3 separate regions of the Homo sapiens genome follow, and regions 1 and 2 are each linked to region 3. Evidence: promoter capture Hi-C in human tissues and cell types (Jung and others, 2019). All regions are on one chromosome and are shown on one strand. Each heading gives the region's core, a stretch centred on a gene start or on the middle of the fragment in contact. The rest is flanking DNA. Distances are from core to core; before and after follow the strand shown. Region 1 holds the start of MYH13 (myosin heavy chain 13). Region 2 overlaps MYH8 (myosin heavy chain 8). Region 3 holds the start of MYH2 (myosin heavy chain 2).

Region 1 (4,702 bases), core at 1,493-3,992, 180 kb after region 3:
TTTTTTATGTGAGATGGAGTCTTTCTCTGTTGCCCAGACTAGAGTGCAACGGTGCCATCTTCACTCACTGCAACTTCCACCTCCTGGGTTCACGCGAGTCTCCTGCCTCAGCCTGCCAAGTAGCTGGGAATGCAGGTGTGCACCACCACGCCTGGCTAATTTTATTGGTATTTTTAGTAGAGATGGGGTTTCACCATGTTGGCCAGGCTGATGTCAAACTGCTGACTTCAAGTGATCCACCCGGCTCGGCCTCCCAAAGTGCTGGGATTACAGGTGTGAGCCACTGCACCCAGCCTAGTTCTTAAGTCTTAATTATTACCATTAAATGAAACTCAGAGTCTGATTCCATTCTTTTCTTATCACTTCAGGCCTTTCAACACATGAGTCAGGATGACTCCCCTATGAGTCATCTTGATTCATTTATTCACCAGGACGAACATTTACTGAGCATCTGCTACATGCAAAAGGCTGCACCTCAAATAAAAGCAACTGTGCTTAGGGCTGATCACTCTCGGTTGCTTTCTTCTGGGCCAGAACTTTGCTATGGATTATGTCCTTCAGCCTTTCCTCTCTTGTTTTCTGGAACAGGAAATAAATAAGTTTGTGTTCCAACATCAAATCACCTAGGGAAGTTCCAGGTCTAAAAAAAAAGTATTCATATTTCTTTACTGAAGGGCTTCTCACATCCCTTAATATGCTAATATTTATGATGAATCTCTAACAGGAGGGAATAGAGTTTAACACATTTCTTAAGCTCATTTAACCACAGGACCATTTATTTCGAAGCGACCCTCCCAATCTGCATTCTGTCAAATCTACTTTAGAAAATACTTTGTGGAAGCCAGGCTCATGCCTGTAATCCCAGCACTTTGGGAGGCCAAGGCAGGCGGATCACCTGAGGTCGGGAGTTCGAGACCAGCCTGACCAACATGGTGAAACCCCGTCTCTATTAAAAATACAAAATTAGCTGGGCCTGGTGGCACATGCCTGTAATCCCAGCTACTCGGGAGGCTGAGGCAGGAAAATCGCTTGAACCCACAAGGCGGAGGTTGTGGTGGGCGGAGGTCGCGCCATTGCAATCCAGCCTGGGCAACAAGAGCAAAACTCTGTCTCAAAAAAAAAAAAGAAAGAAAGAGAAAGAAAGAGAGAGAAAGAAAGAAAGGAACGAAAGAAGGAAGGAAGGAAGGAGGGAGGGAGGGAGGGAAGGAAGGAAGGAAGGAAGGAAGGAAGGAAGGAAGGAAGGAAGGAAGGAAGAGAAAATACTTTGTGGAAGTCCTATCTCTACCTGCTCCTCCTCTGGTCTAAAATTCACTTTGATTAATGCAAACTATCTTTTGGAAATGCCCTACCTACATGAAATTCTACCCACTGGAGACTGATTAAGGAAACTTTGATTCAACAAACACTGATTATATACAATTTAAACAGATCACACTGTATTGCAGTAAATGGCTCTAACTTCTACATATACAGTTGTTCCTACATAGTCAAACATCACTTATATTTTAGCAAAAAATAAAAAAACTCCTAAGTAACTATAATTGTCACAAAGTCCACGTATTTTCATTAGAACCCACTAGAGCTGCACTCAGAACTTATTTACTCTTACTTTAGCCTGATCTTAATTTTGTAATCTCTTTCCCAATCAATAATACAAAATCAGGCTAGTAAAGACAAACTTACCACAGAAAGAAATTATACCTGAGAGGCTGGCCATGAAGGCAAAGACAGAAAATCTAAAAAGTAAGGCCAAGTGTGGTGGCTCACACTTGTAATCCCAGCATTTTGGGAGGCCGAGGCGGGAGGATCACTTGAGGTCAGGAGTTCGAAACCACCCTGGCCAACATGGTGAAACCCTGTCTCTACTAAAAATATAAAAATTAGCTGGGCGATTATAGCACATGCCTATATATAACACATGGGATTATAGCACATGCCTATAATCCCAACTACTTGGGAGGCTGAGACAAGAGAATTGCTTGAACCTGGGAAATGGAGTTTGCAGCGAACCAAGATCACGCCACTGCACTCCAGCCTAGAGGAGAGAGCAAGACTCTGTTTCGATAATAATAATAATAATAAATAAAAGTATACACCAAAATTCACAGCAGGAACAATTAGTGCAGGCATGATCCACTAAGAACCAGATCCTTGATGACTTTATTATATCATCTCCCAGACCCCCAGAGTGATCAAGAAAAACTTAAATTCTATTCAAGATAGTAGGTTACACAGAGCAGGATAATGTAAAATACATTTTGGAAAGCTTTTCTTCCAGTAGATTTTTAAACAAACAAATACATAAATAAGACTGGATGTGTTAAAAGGTCAACCTTAAATTTCCAGAGATTTCTGAGATGAGAAGCACACCATCCCATACCAATGCTGGGTAAATGAGGTGTAGTTACTGTCCACACTACTGATCACCCATTGCTTGACAAAGCATCCTGTGGTTCTGCCCTTCAGTGACCTTCTTAGCACACTCTGCTCCAGTTCCACTCAGCCCCTAGGACTCTCTAAGTCTCAAAGATCTGTGTCCAACGTCAAAATCCCTATGCAGCTGACTTGGCATTATGCAGCCTCCACTGGTCATTTATCCAAGTAACTTAACAAGAGTGAGAGATCAGGGCTACGACGCATTTACATCTAACAAGTAAATGGTGCTCCCCCAAATATAGCCAAGTTAGAGTGCTGGGCTGGCAGATTTGGGAGTATAAAGAGAGCTGGGGGGTCACACTCCTGAAATTGCTGTGACCGCAGCATCTCTAGGTAAGTGCTCACAAGTGCTCACTTTTTTGCTCCACGTAGCTATAGTTGCACCTGATCAGGTTACCAGTCAAGGGGGGAAGACAATAAAGTAGCCTTTACGGAGGGCCTACTAAGTGCAAGGTCTTGTGTTGAGGGCAAGGTTGGAGACAAGATGGAAAGACAAGACAACTGCCTTTCAAGAAACTTTTACAAGGGGTGAAAAGACAAGAATATAAGCAATTATAAGACAAAAAATATTCACCTGCAGAACAAAACTGAGTATAATGCATGATTCCTCCTCTGATTATTTAGGTCAATGTTATACTGTTCAGTTAGCAAATTAACTTGGTAACTTGTGGTATCTCTTCTGTGATTGCTTAAGCTATTATTTGAAATTTTTATGTTTATTTAATTTGTTTCCCATGTCAGGATTTCTGAAAAATGGTTGTGGGAGGAAATAATCCCAAGCATCTTACCCATCTTACAAAGTGTCATAGTCTGATATGAATTGACTGGTTTGCAGACTGTTCTCACATGGCATATTTTATGGACTTGGGACTGGACTGTGTCTGACAGTGCAATAGCATCCCTCAGAGATTTGTGATACTTTGAATTCAGGCCACCATCTCTACGGAGAACTGTCTGTTATAGACTCATAGGGCTGAAAGGAATCTTGGAGATTTTCTGGTGCATCTGATTCATTTTACGGAAGGAAACAGAAACCCAAAGAAATCATACCAGCTACTTAACAGAACTGATATTAGAATTTCTGTAGCTCTGCCTCCATATTTTTTTAAATTGAGGATTCAGAATATAGTATGTAATACTTTAATTTTTTAAGAAATTGTGAGAATTTTAGGATATAACTGGAGATTATTTAAGATGCATTAAAGACGGAGAAGGAAGGAGGCAACAAGGATAGTAAACCAAATCCTAAGTGTCTGTTCCTGCCTAAATAGGGCTTCATGAAATATTCCCCTGGCTCCATAAAAGCACTGAATGGTAATTGGGAAGTTTGCTTAGATTACATTTGATATTGAAAATTTTTCAGACACTCATGCCTCCTTGAGATAGCCACGTAGTTTATAAACTCCTAGAGCTGAGATTCCTTAGTCCCAGGTGACTTTTCAGCTGCCCTACCTTCATCATCTGCAGGAGGAATTTAGAGCATTGAAGAGAATAAAGAAGTCTTTGTCCACAATTTATAACTTTTCTCCTATTGCCAAAAAAAGGTGACTGCCCCTAAGCATCCAAGCTGCAATCTGGAGCATTCCCCTCCCTACTTTCTTTCTTCCCTGACCCCTCACAGCCCCCCAGTCAGAAGCGGTTTCTCTAAGTTCCCATAGTACTTTGTTTAGACTCCTTAAAAATTTGTCTTAATCCTGTTCAAAGACTTACTTGAGCATTCTCTTATCCCTTACTAACTTTTGCATTCCTATAGGGCAGATACTGTACTTTCCTCTTCATACCCCCTTAAGGAGCTGACACAGTACATTGTACACACAGAAGTTTCTCAAGAGAGTATTAATTAAATGTTGTAATTAACCAACTATTTAAAGAATAATGATTTTAATCAAAAGTAAAAATTCAAAACAGCAAATTTATTTCATTCCACACCATCTACTGTGTATCTATTTAAGGTAGATAAACTGGAACAAACATGGTTTCTATATTTATTTAAACTCTTTGTAGCTCATTTGGGTTTTTTTGGTTTGTTTTTTTTTCTCAAATTATCCCCAGGAAGACGCTTTATTCCTGAAGGACACTGACTGTCACTTGGGAACCAAGAAGGTAAGGGTTATTTTCAGCTTGATCATGAATGCAATCATTGAAATTAGCAAACATCATTTTACACGTTCTCATTCTTGCCACACTCATAAGAAGACGAAATTGATGAGTTTGAAACCAATAACTTAACTATTCTTAAAGGTAGATTTTAAAATATATACAGGTT
Region 2 (4,425 bases), core at 1,177-3,676, 150 kb after region 3:
ATTTCAGGGGCTCAACATAGACTTTCCACATTAACCAGATTTAGAAGGGAATGGGAAAACAAAAGCAAACAAAAACACAAAAGCAGAAAGGGCTAAGAACAGTTCATCAATCTTTCCTTAACTAGAATTGTCCTGGGCATGAGAACCTCTAGCCTAGTCAATGGTACAACTCTCTGAAAATTATGTTGCAGTTTAGGCCTATTGCCCATGTTGTGTATAAAAATGAAACAATGAAACCACAAAACTTAAAGAACATTTTTGTTACACTGGGGAAATCTGAATATAGACTGTATATTAGATAATATTATTGTATCAGTGATTAATATTTTCATTTGTAATAACAGTATTGTAGTTATATAGGAGAATGTTCATGTCCTTAGGAGAGAAATGCTAAAATATGATATCTGCCATTTACTTTCAAATGATTTAGGAGAGTGTGTGTGTGTGTGTGCGTGCACATGTGCCTATATATGTGTCTATGTGTGTGTTTAGAGAGAGAAAAAACAGTAAAATGTTAAAAATACGAGGATTTAGGTAAATGGTATATGGCAATTTATTGTATTATTCATACAGCTATTCGGTAAGTTTAACAGTTTTCAAAATAAAAGTTGGGGTAAAAGTTCCAAAAAATAAAATTCACCTTAAGACTAATGGGTAATTCTGTAAATGGAAATGTAAATTTTGAACAATTATAGCACTGTATGAACTACCAGGAAGGTTTTAGTGTATTAAAAAATACTACATGGAAATGTATTTAAATTATTTTTCTTCTTTTTCTTTCTTCAATACAGCCTAGCAATTATTGGTTTGAGGGGGACAGGGAATGATCAAAACCAAAACTAACCAATTTAACTAAATCAAAATCTTTAAATATTACAGCTGAAAAGCTCTTGGCAATCATTTATTCCAACCCATATATATATATACACAAAATTGAGAATGAAAGGAATAAAGCAATTTGCCCAAAGTCATACATATGCAAACAATATTGGGACAAGAACCCAGGCTTCCTTTTGCCCGATTTAGAGGTCTTTCCACTCTTCTACAAATTATTTTTTAAATAATCAATAGCTCCAATCCAATAACTTTGCAAACTAGTTTGCTTCTAAAGCTATAGTCTCACTTCCAATAAGCTGCATTTCTCCAGACCATGTAATAATGTTCGATTAAATTAAATTTATATTCATACTGAAAAATTCAACAGAATTCAATAAAACACTATTATTTTTGCGCAAAAAAAACACCAAGTTTCAAAATAAGTAACAGACTCTAAGTATCTGAATGAATCTCTCCATAGGAAGCAGATAGCTTGGCTGATGCAGAGGAAAGGTGTGAGCAACTGATTAAAAACAAAATCCAACTTGAGGCCAAAATCAAAGAGGTGACTGAAAGAGCTGAGGAGGAGGAAGAGATCAATGCTGAGCTGACAGCCAAGAAGAGAAAACTGGAGGATGAATGTTCAGAACTCAAGAAAGACATTGATGACCTTGAGCTGACACTGGCCAAGGTTGAGAAGGAGAAACATGCCACGGAGAACAAGGTATCAGTCATATTTTACAATACTGTATAGAGGTTCTGCCACCAACTAAATTGCTTTATAGGAGAAATAATCTCTTTCTTAACCTTTGTAGGTGAAAAATCTTACAGAAGAGATGGCAGGCCTGGATGAAACCATTGCAAAACTGTCCAAGGAGAAGAAGGCTCTCCAAGAGACCCACCAGCAGACCCTGGATGACCTGCAGGCAGAGGAGGACAAAGTCAACATCCTGACCAAAGCTAAAACCAAGCTAGAACAGCAAGTGGATGATGTAAGCACATTTTAAATATCCCTTTGAAAGATTTTTTTAAAAATATATACTTTCAATTTTTACCATATTTACTTTCTTATTAGCTTGAAGGGTCTCTGGAACAAGAAAAGAAGCTTCGAATGGATCTAGAAAGAGCAAAGCGGAAACTGGAGGGTGACCTCAAATTGGCCCAAGAATCCACAATGGATATGGAAAATGACAAACAGCAACTTGATGAAAAGCTTGAAAAGTAGGAGCCTTTTAGAAAAAAACTTCTATGTGATATCATCTTTCAATTCACATGAGTATTAATACGTCTTGCTCTTCTGTCTAAAGGAAAGAATTTGAAATCAGCAATTTGATAAGCAAAATTGAAGATGAGCAAGCTGTAGAAATTCAACTACAGAAGAAGATCAAAGAGTTGCAGGTGAGTCATCTCACCTCTATTTTTTCTGCACACCAAAAAAACACTGAAGTTGAGATGAGTTTATGTTTATGTGCTTCTTTCATTCCCAGGCCCGCATTGAGGAGCTGGGGGAAGAAATCGAGGCAGAGAGGGCGTCCCGAGCCAAAGCGGAGAAGCAGCGCTCTGACCTCTCCCGGGAACTGGAGGAGATCAGCGAGAGGCTGGAAGAAGCCGGTGGGGCAACTTCTGCTCAGGTGGAATTGAACAAGAAGCGGGAGGCTGAGTTTCAGAAACTGCGCAGGGACCTGGAGGAGGCCACCCTGCAGCATGAAGCTATGGTGGCTGCTCTTCGGAAGAAGCACGCAGACAGTATGGCTGAGCTTGGGGAGCAGATTGACAACTTGCAGCGGGTCAAACAGAAGCTGGAGAAGGAGAAGAGTGAGCTGAAGATGGAGACTGATGACCTCAGCAGTAACGCAGAGGCCATTTCCAAAGCCAAGGTACCCAATACTGTCTCTAAATGAAGGTAATCATCTGTAAGAACACCCATTATTCTCTATCACTAAACATTGTTTGCAGGCATTTTACAGCACTACTCAAATATTTTCTAACCAAATATATCCCATTCTATGGTATTTTTTAAAATGCTGGTTATGATCGATTAAGATGATTTTTTTTTGGAGCGGGGGGATGGAGTCTCACTCTGTCGCCCAGGCTGAAGTGCAGTGGCGCAATCTCGGCTCACTGCAAGCTCCGCCTCCCGGGTTCACGCCACTCTCCTGCCTCAGCCTCCCCAGTAGCTGGGACTACAGGCGCCCGCCAGCACGCCTAGCTAATTTTTTGTATTTTTAGTAGAGACGGGGTTTCACCGTGTTAGCCAGGATGCTCTCGATCTCCTAACCTCATGATCCGCCCGCCTCGGCCTCCCAAAGTGCTGGGATTACAGGCATGAGCCACCGCGCCCGGCCTATTAAGATGATTTCAAAATCCACTTTAAGCAAGCGTCAATATCATTGGAATAAATGGTCTCCAACAATGACCAGTTTAGGCACACTATGCACTCGCCATGCCTAAATTCTTGCATGTTCCACAGAGTTGATGTCCTAACTTTCTACTCACACTTGACATGAATTTATTTACTCTACAAATATTTTAAGAATCAAGTTTTAACCTTTTTATTGCATTCAATGTCTCATCTTTCATTGCTACATATCCTGTAGGGAAACCTTGAAAAGATGTGCCGCTCTCTAGAAGATCAAGTGAGTGAGCTTAAGACCAAGGAAGAGGAGCAGCAGCGGCTGATCAATGACCTCACAGCACAGAGAGCGCGCCTGCAGACAGAAGCGGGTAAAGACATCTTCTCTGGGTCCCAACACCATGGACTAAATAAAATGGATTCTAGGGGTTCTAATAAATAGCAATATTCCCACTTTAGAGAAAGATAAACAAATGATCAGAGTTTGCTAAGAAGGTCAAAAAGGAAAGAAGTCAAGACTGAGCAGACAAGTTTACTTACAACACTTCTATGGCAATGCTGCTTTTAAATCTCCGGTTCTAACCAGTGCTAAAAAAATACTTAGAAGCAGATGAAGTGTAGATTAAACACATCACACACAAACAGACACACACACACACACACAGGTTGAGTATCCCTAATCTGAAAATCAAAAATCTGAAATGCTCCAAAATTCAAAACTGAGGGCTGACATGATGTCCAAAGGAAATGCTCACTGCAGCATTTCAGATTTTAGATTTTCGGATTAGGGATGCTGAACTGGCAAGTGTAATGCAAATATTCTAAAATCAAACAAAAATCTGAAATCTGAAACACTTCTGGTCCCAAGCATTTCAGGTAAGGTATATACAACTTGTATATATATATATATATATATATACACACACACATATATACATATATATATACACACACACATATATAAATGTAAAAGGTTTAGGCTTATTTTTATGCCAGTAAAAAATTCCCTTATGTCTATTATTCCTAGGTGAATATTCTCGACAATTAGATGAGAAAGATGCTTTAGTCTCTCAGCTTTCAAGGAGCAAGCAAGCATCTACTCAGCAGATTGAAGAGCTGAAACATCAACTAGAGGAAGAAACTAAAGTGAGTTTTGCCAAGGATTTTTTTGACTAACCAAATCTAAACCTGCCCAGTTAGGCTCTACTTGGGATGTGTAAGTTAAATATCACTGAATACATGAATTTATGTCACTG
Region 3 (4,794 bases), core at 1,321-3,820:
ATCAAGAAAAGGACACAAAGTGAATGTATGTCTTTGACCTGTTTACATAGTGGAAAAGATGATCCCGAATGACATATTCCTTAAGCTCTTGTTCTCAGAGAACATTTAACAGTCACAGATCCTGAGCCAAGTGGCACGGGAACAATTAAGGTGTGTCTCTTAATTACTGGGAACAAGGCTTTGCATTTTCTTCTTTATAGTCAAAAACAATGTATTAGACAGCGGCTACCTATAGAACACAGTATTCACTGAAGGAGTTTACCAAATGAGGAAACAGAATATAGAACCATGGATTGACTTAAAATTGAAGATCAGGCTGGGCGCGGTAGCTCACACCAGTAATCCCAGAACTTTGGGAGGCCGAGGCGGGTGTATCACAAGGTCAGGAGATTGAGACCATCCTGGCTAACATGGTGAAACCCCATCTCTACTAAAAATACAAAAAAATTAGCTGGGCGTGGTGGCATGTGCCTGTAGTCCCACCTACTTGGGAGGCTGAGGCAGGAGAATTGCTTGAACCCGGGAGGCGGAGGTTGCAGTGAGCCGGGATCATGCCACTGCATTCCAGCCTGGGTGACAGAGTGAGACTCCATCTCAAAAAAAAAAAAAAAAGTGAAGATCATTTTGTAAATAACATAAAATAAGAACTATTTAATAAAACATAAGGAAAATGCCCATTGGCAGCAGAGATGGAACAAGAGAATATTAAACTATTGCTGTGGGCACTAAAAATGGCTGTTTAGTTTGGAAAAACAGCTCAACAGCTCACCTTAAAACAGAGCTTCCCAACCAGTGTATCTTGGCATCAAAAAGGTAACTGATGTGCCATAAAATGTTGATCTCTTCAGTCTCAGAATGGCTGGATGGGGAGGGGGACCTTGGGAGGTGGCTCCTAGCTGGGAGAAGGCTGACTAAGGGTTCCTCAGAGTGTTGACTGGGCTGCATTCGAGTCTGACAGCATAACCTATGATTCCTACAGGAGGCAAGCACAATGGTGGTATTTGCCATGTGCTGGATGGAACCAAGAAGGACTTCAGCAGCCAGCTGAGAATGTAATGCTGTCTTCTGCAGTCAAGAGACCCCTGGAATTGCTGGGAGGGTTGGTGTTCCAGGATGCCTGGGACAAGGCATGCAGCCCAGAGAGCATCCAGCCAGAGTAAAGGTGCCAGAAGGCTAAGTAGGTTGTACTGGAAGAGGTAGCCCACAGTAATAGCTCCAAACCTTAGACTTTGAATAGATCAGGTACTTGTGTGTATTTGTGACTGGTGTGCCCTTTGACCAATGCTGATGACTCCTTTAACCCATGAAGTTTTTGAAGATTAGAGCTTCATTATCCTTTGAAATATTTGATATGAAAGAGAGAGTTTAAATGGATTAAAAACTTATTTTCACTGTACGAGAATATTCAACATTATATTTTTCAATGAAGGAGAAAGAAGAACTGGTGAATTTTTAAAATACTCCAACAGTTGTAAATTACTTGGTTTTCCATTTTCATCCCTCCTTCTTGGACAAAAATCCCCGCTATGGTAATTATCAAGAACACAGATACTGTTTGTATCATTTTTGAAAATTTGATCTGGAAATTTGTGTCATATTTCAAGAATAAAGTCAGAAACAAACAAGTTTTATTTGTAGGATATAGCTCAAATTTTTCCTTAGGATTTTCAAGAAGATATTATTTGTAAGTTTCCGACATATTCAGTATTTAATATTTTCCTTAATGCTATGTGTATCATAGTTATTATATTTATATTACATAAAGGAATGTAAAAAAATTAAAAATATTCTCCCCAAGCCCTTTACAGATATAGACAAATCCCTTCCACATTACTCTAGCATGCTACACTAATATTGTCATTTTTTTCTCAGCGGGCTATGACACGAAAAAATGTTGAAAAGTACTCTCTAAAAACACCTCTGCTACTAGAAAATATTCAACCTTTTTTATTTCAGGCAAGTCAAATGGGTAGGGGGACAGGAAATGGTGTGCTAAGTAGAGGGAACAACTTTGGCAAAAGCAAAAAGGTGAGCGAGCAAGGAAATTCCTGAAACTACAGGAATATTGGAATAACAGAGAGGACCTTCTGTCTCTTTAAGTTGTTGAAGGCACATCGCTTAATTTTGCAGGGCTGGAAAGAAAGGACCAACAGGTAAAAATTAACTGTCACAAAATTAAAATACATATTTGTATTTTATTTATGTGACTTAACACGTGAAATATGCGAAAGTGATGCGAGGCAAGCCCGAATGCTGTGCCCAGCAAAGCCAAAAAGAAGTTCCGAGGGAAGCCAGGTATCCTGGCTGCCCAGCCACTGCCTTTATCCACCAGCTTGACTCTTTCAGATCATCTTCTCAAATTATCCATAGGAGATTTATCCACATACTCAATAAGAAAAATATTTCTAATTATATCCAACCATTCTTAATATGAATGAGAATTATGCGGGGACGCTAGATTGCCAAGAGGTATTTTGCCAAACAATTCCTTTTGACTTAAGAAAGAAGAGGCAGCTGCATTGTTTCCATAGCTATCCATATAAAAGAGCCCTTGGAATGAGGCTGACTCGTCCTGCTTTAAAAAGCTCCAAGGTAAGTGGGAGCAGGACGGGCCTTTCAAGAGGGACACTGGTCACACCGCCCAGTGTCAGCAGCAGCTGCTAGTTCTGGTACTGCTCCTTCTGGAACTGCACGTTTTACCTCTATGAATTTTGTTACTTCTGTTTACAATAGCAAGCCATGCCATAAATGGGATTTTTTCCCCCTCTTTTTGGTCAACTAATCAAGTGCTTTTCCCTTTTCTTTTATAGAACTGTCTCACTCCCAGGCTACATCTTCTCACTTGCTAACAAGGTAAGATTTGGACTAACCAGTTCCTGGAGGAGAATGCAAGAGGCTCTGGGATGGATTTCTGTCACTTAGCAACCTTTCAGAAAGTGCTTGTCTCAGTAAATACCCTTTAACAACTGTGCTTCAGGAAAGCGGTGAGAAAGGGAGGACTGTCCTTTCAGGACAATGCACACATCCTCATTTACGGCTCAAGCATTGGTGGGGTGACATTTGAGCAGGGGAATCGCTTTGAATAAATATATTGTCTGTGCAGGAAAAAAAGAGTCTACCCTCAGATTCCCTGGCTAAAAATCTCAAATTTGATAAAAATGTATCCTGCTGTTAGAATTCATTTAGTAAACATAATGTCCAACAATGTAAAATGGAAGTAAGACAATCCTTTCTTTAAACTTCTTAAAGCCCTTGTAAAAAGTCACCTTACACAATGCCGAGTGCTGTGGCATTTTTCTTATATATAATAGAGGTATTAATCTGCCCTCCCACTACTTACTGCATTTCTAAAGGGAGAGACTAGAAGAGACGATTCAAATGAGTTTCAAGTAATTTGATCATGTAATGACTGCGGTAGAATTATTTGCCAAACCTTTCATTCTACTGATACCACTGGCAACCTACAGATCACATAGAACGGAGCAAACAGGGCCTGCATGCTTCAAAGGAAAATTTGGAATAGTAAAGGGAGCCCTTAGATGTAGAAGAATGAGGTTAACGTTGGCTACTGTTTTTATCCCTAATTAGTTTAAGGGGGTTAAACTGATGAACTGTATTTAATATGCAAAAAATTATGTCAGAGAAACTATACTAAGCACCTAACCTAAAAGAAAAAAAGGTAAACAAAATTATAATCTCCAATAAGCCACTGAACTTCAACAAATCTGGCTGAACAGGTAAAGGAGGAAATAAAGTTCTTCTACATTACATTCAAGACATGGAATTTTGTGACATGATAATTCATGACATCTCATATATAAATGGTGGCCTGAACAATTTCAAATTACTTTCTCAGTCATCATTTAAACCTCTTTTTCAAAGTATCTTCACATATATCATGGGCTGTGAATTTAGAAAGGCAGAATTTATAATCCCTATTCTAAAGATGGAGTCACTTAGGCTCAAAAACATCAAGTGACATACCCAAGGTCACAAGCTACTTGACAGCAGCACTGGACTGTAATTCAGTTCCCAATGAGAATGTGAGTCCTGGAGGATGAAATAAGACAGTGGATGCAAAGCCCTAAATACGGCATTGGGTACACAGAGACCACCTGATGCATTTTCGTTCTTGTGATTATGTTTGTCTCAGTAACTATAGTATGGTGAACAGTAGACCTGTCTAGTGGAATTTCCAACTGGGCCTATGAAATACAATAAATATTAAGATTTATTGGTATACATGGCAATCCAGACTCTCTAATGTGAAAGTTTTATCTCCTTTAGGACCTCTGAGTTCAGCAGCCATGAGTTCAGACTCAGAATTGGCTGTTTTTGGGGAGGCTGCTCCTTTCCTCCGAAAGTCTGAAAGGGAGCGCATTGAGGCCCAGAATAGGCCCTTTGATGCCAAAACATCTGTCTTTGTGGCGGAGCCCAAAGAATCCTTTGTCAAAGGGACCATCCAGAGCAGAGAAGGAGGAAAAGTGACGGTGAAGACTGAGGGAGGAGCGGTGAGTAGAATCCCAGGAGCTTGCCACATTTTATTGATTTTTGTTGTTGTTGTTTGGTCACTCAATTAATGTAAACGGTTATCTTTCCTGTTTACCAGACTCTGACAGTGAAGGATGATCAGGTCTTCCCCATGAACCCTCCCAAATATGACAAGATCGAGGATATGGCCATGATGACTCATCTGCATGAGCCTGCTGTGCTGTACAACCTCAAAGAACGTTATGCAGCCTGGATGATCTACGTGAGTGTCCCCTGCCAGTGCTCTGTATAATCATCCTCATG

Evidence for each region. The method cuts DNA at HindIII sites, captures the fragments that hold promoters and counts their contacts. A contact is called where the count stands out against the background at its distance.
Region 1: the fragment with the promoter of MYH13 here is called in contact with the fragment with the promoter of MYH2 in region 3 in 4 of the 25 tissues and cell types used here (hippocampus, mesendoderm cells, pancreas and 1 more).
Region 2: a contact is called between a fragment that was not itself captured here and the fragment with the promoter of MYH2 in region 3, in 2 of the 25 tissues and cell types used here (liver and mesendoderm cells).

What each region holds. Positions count from the first base shown.
Region 1 is chr17:10,371,046-10,375,747 of GRCh38, reverse strand. It overlaps MYH13 (myosin heavy chain 13), which reads left to right and starts at 2,742. Exons shown (of 41, transcript NM_003802.3): 1 at 2,742-2,769; 2 at 4,489-4,539. The HindIII fragment of the contact is 16,892 bases long and covers 1,093-4,702 here.
Region 2 is chr17:10,398,658-10,403,082 of GRCh38, reverse strand. MYH8 (myosin heavy chain 8) reads left to right here. Exons shown (of 40, transcript NM_002472.3): 23 at 1,298-1,540; 24 at 1,632-1,808; 25 at 1,892-2,037; 26 at 2,124-2,214; 27 at 2,304-2,693; 28 at 3,414-3,540; 29 at 4,197-4,315. The region is part of intron 1 of MYHAS (myosin heavy chain gene cluster antisense RNA); the gene reads right to left. Among named protein-coding and RNA genes, the nearest start is that of MYHAS, 18 kb to the right of the region's middle. RefSeq lists an enhancer at 1,375-2,574. The HindIII fragment of the contact is 4,137 bases long and covers 358-4,425 here.
Region 3 is chr17:10,547,434-10,552,227 of GRCh38, reverse strand. It overlaps MYH2 (myosin heavy chain 2), which reads left to right and starts at 2,570. Exons shown (of 40, transcript NM_017534.6): 1 at 2,570-2,592; 2 at 2,811-2,853; 3 at 4,288-4,511; 4 at 4,610-4,753. The coding sequence starts at 4,308. All of the region lies in intron 2 of MYHAS (myosin heavy chain gene cluster antisense RNA), which reads right to left. The HindIII fragment of the contact is 30,725 bases long and covers 1-4,794 here.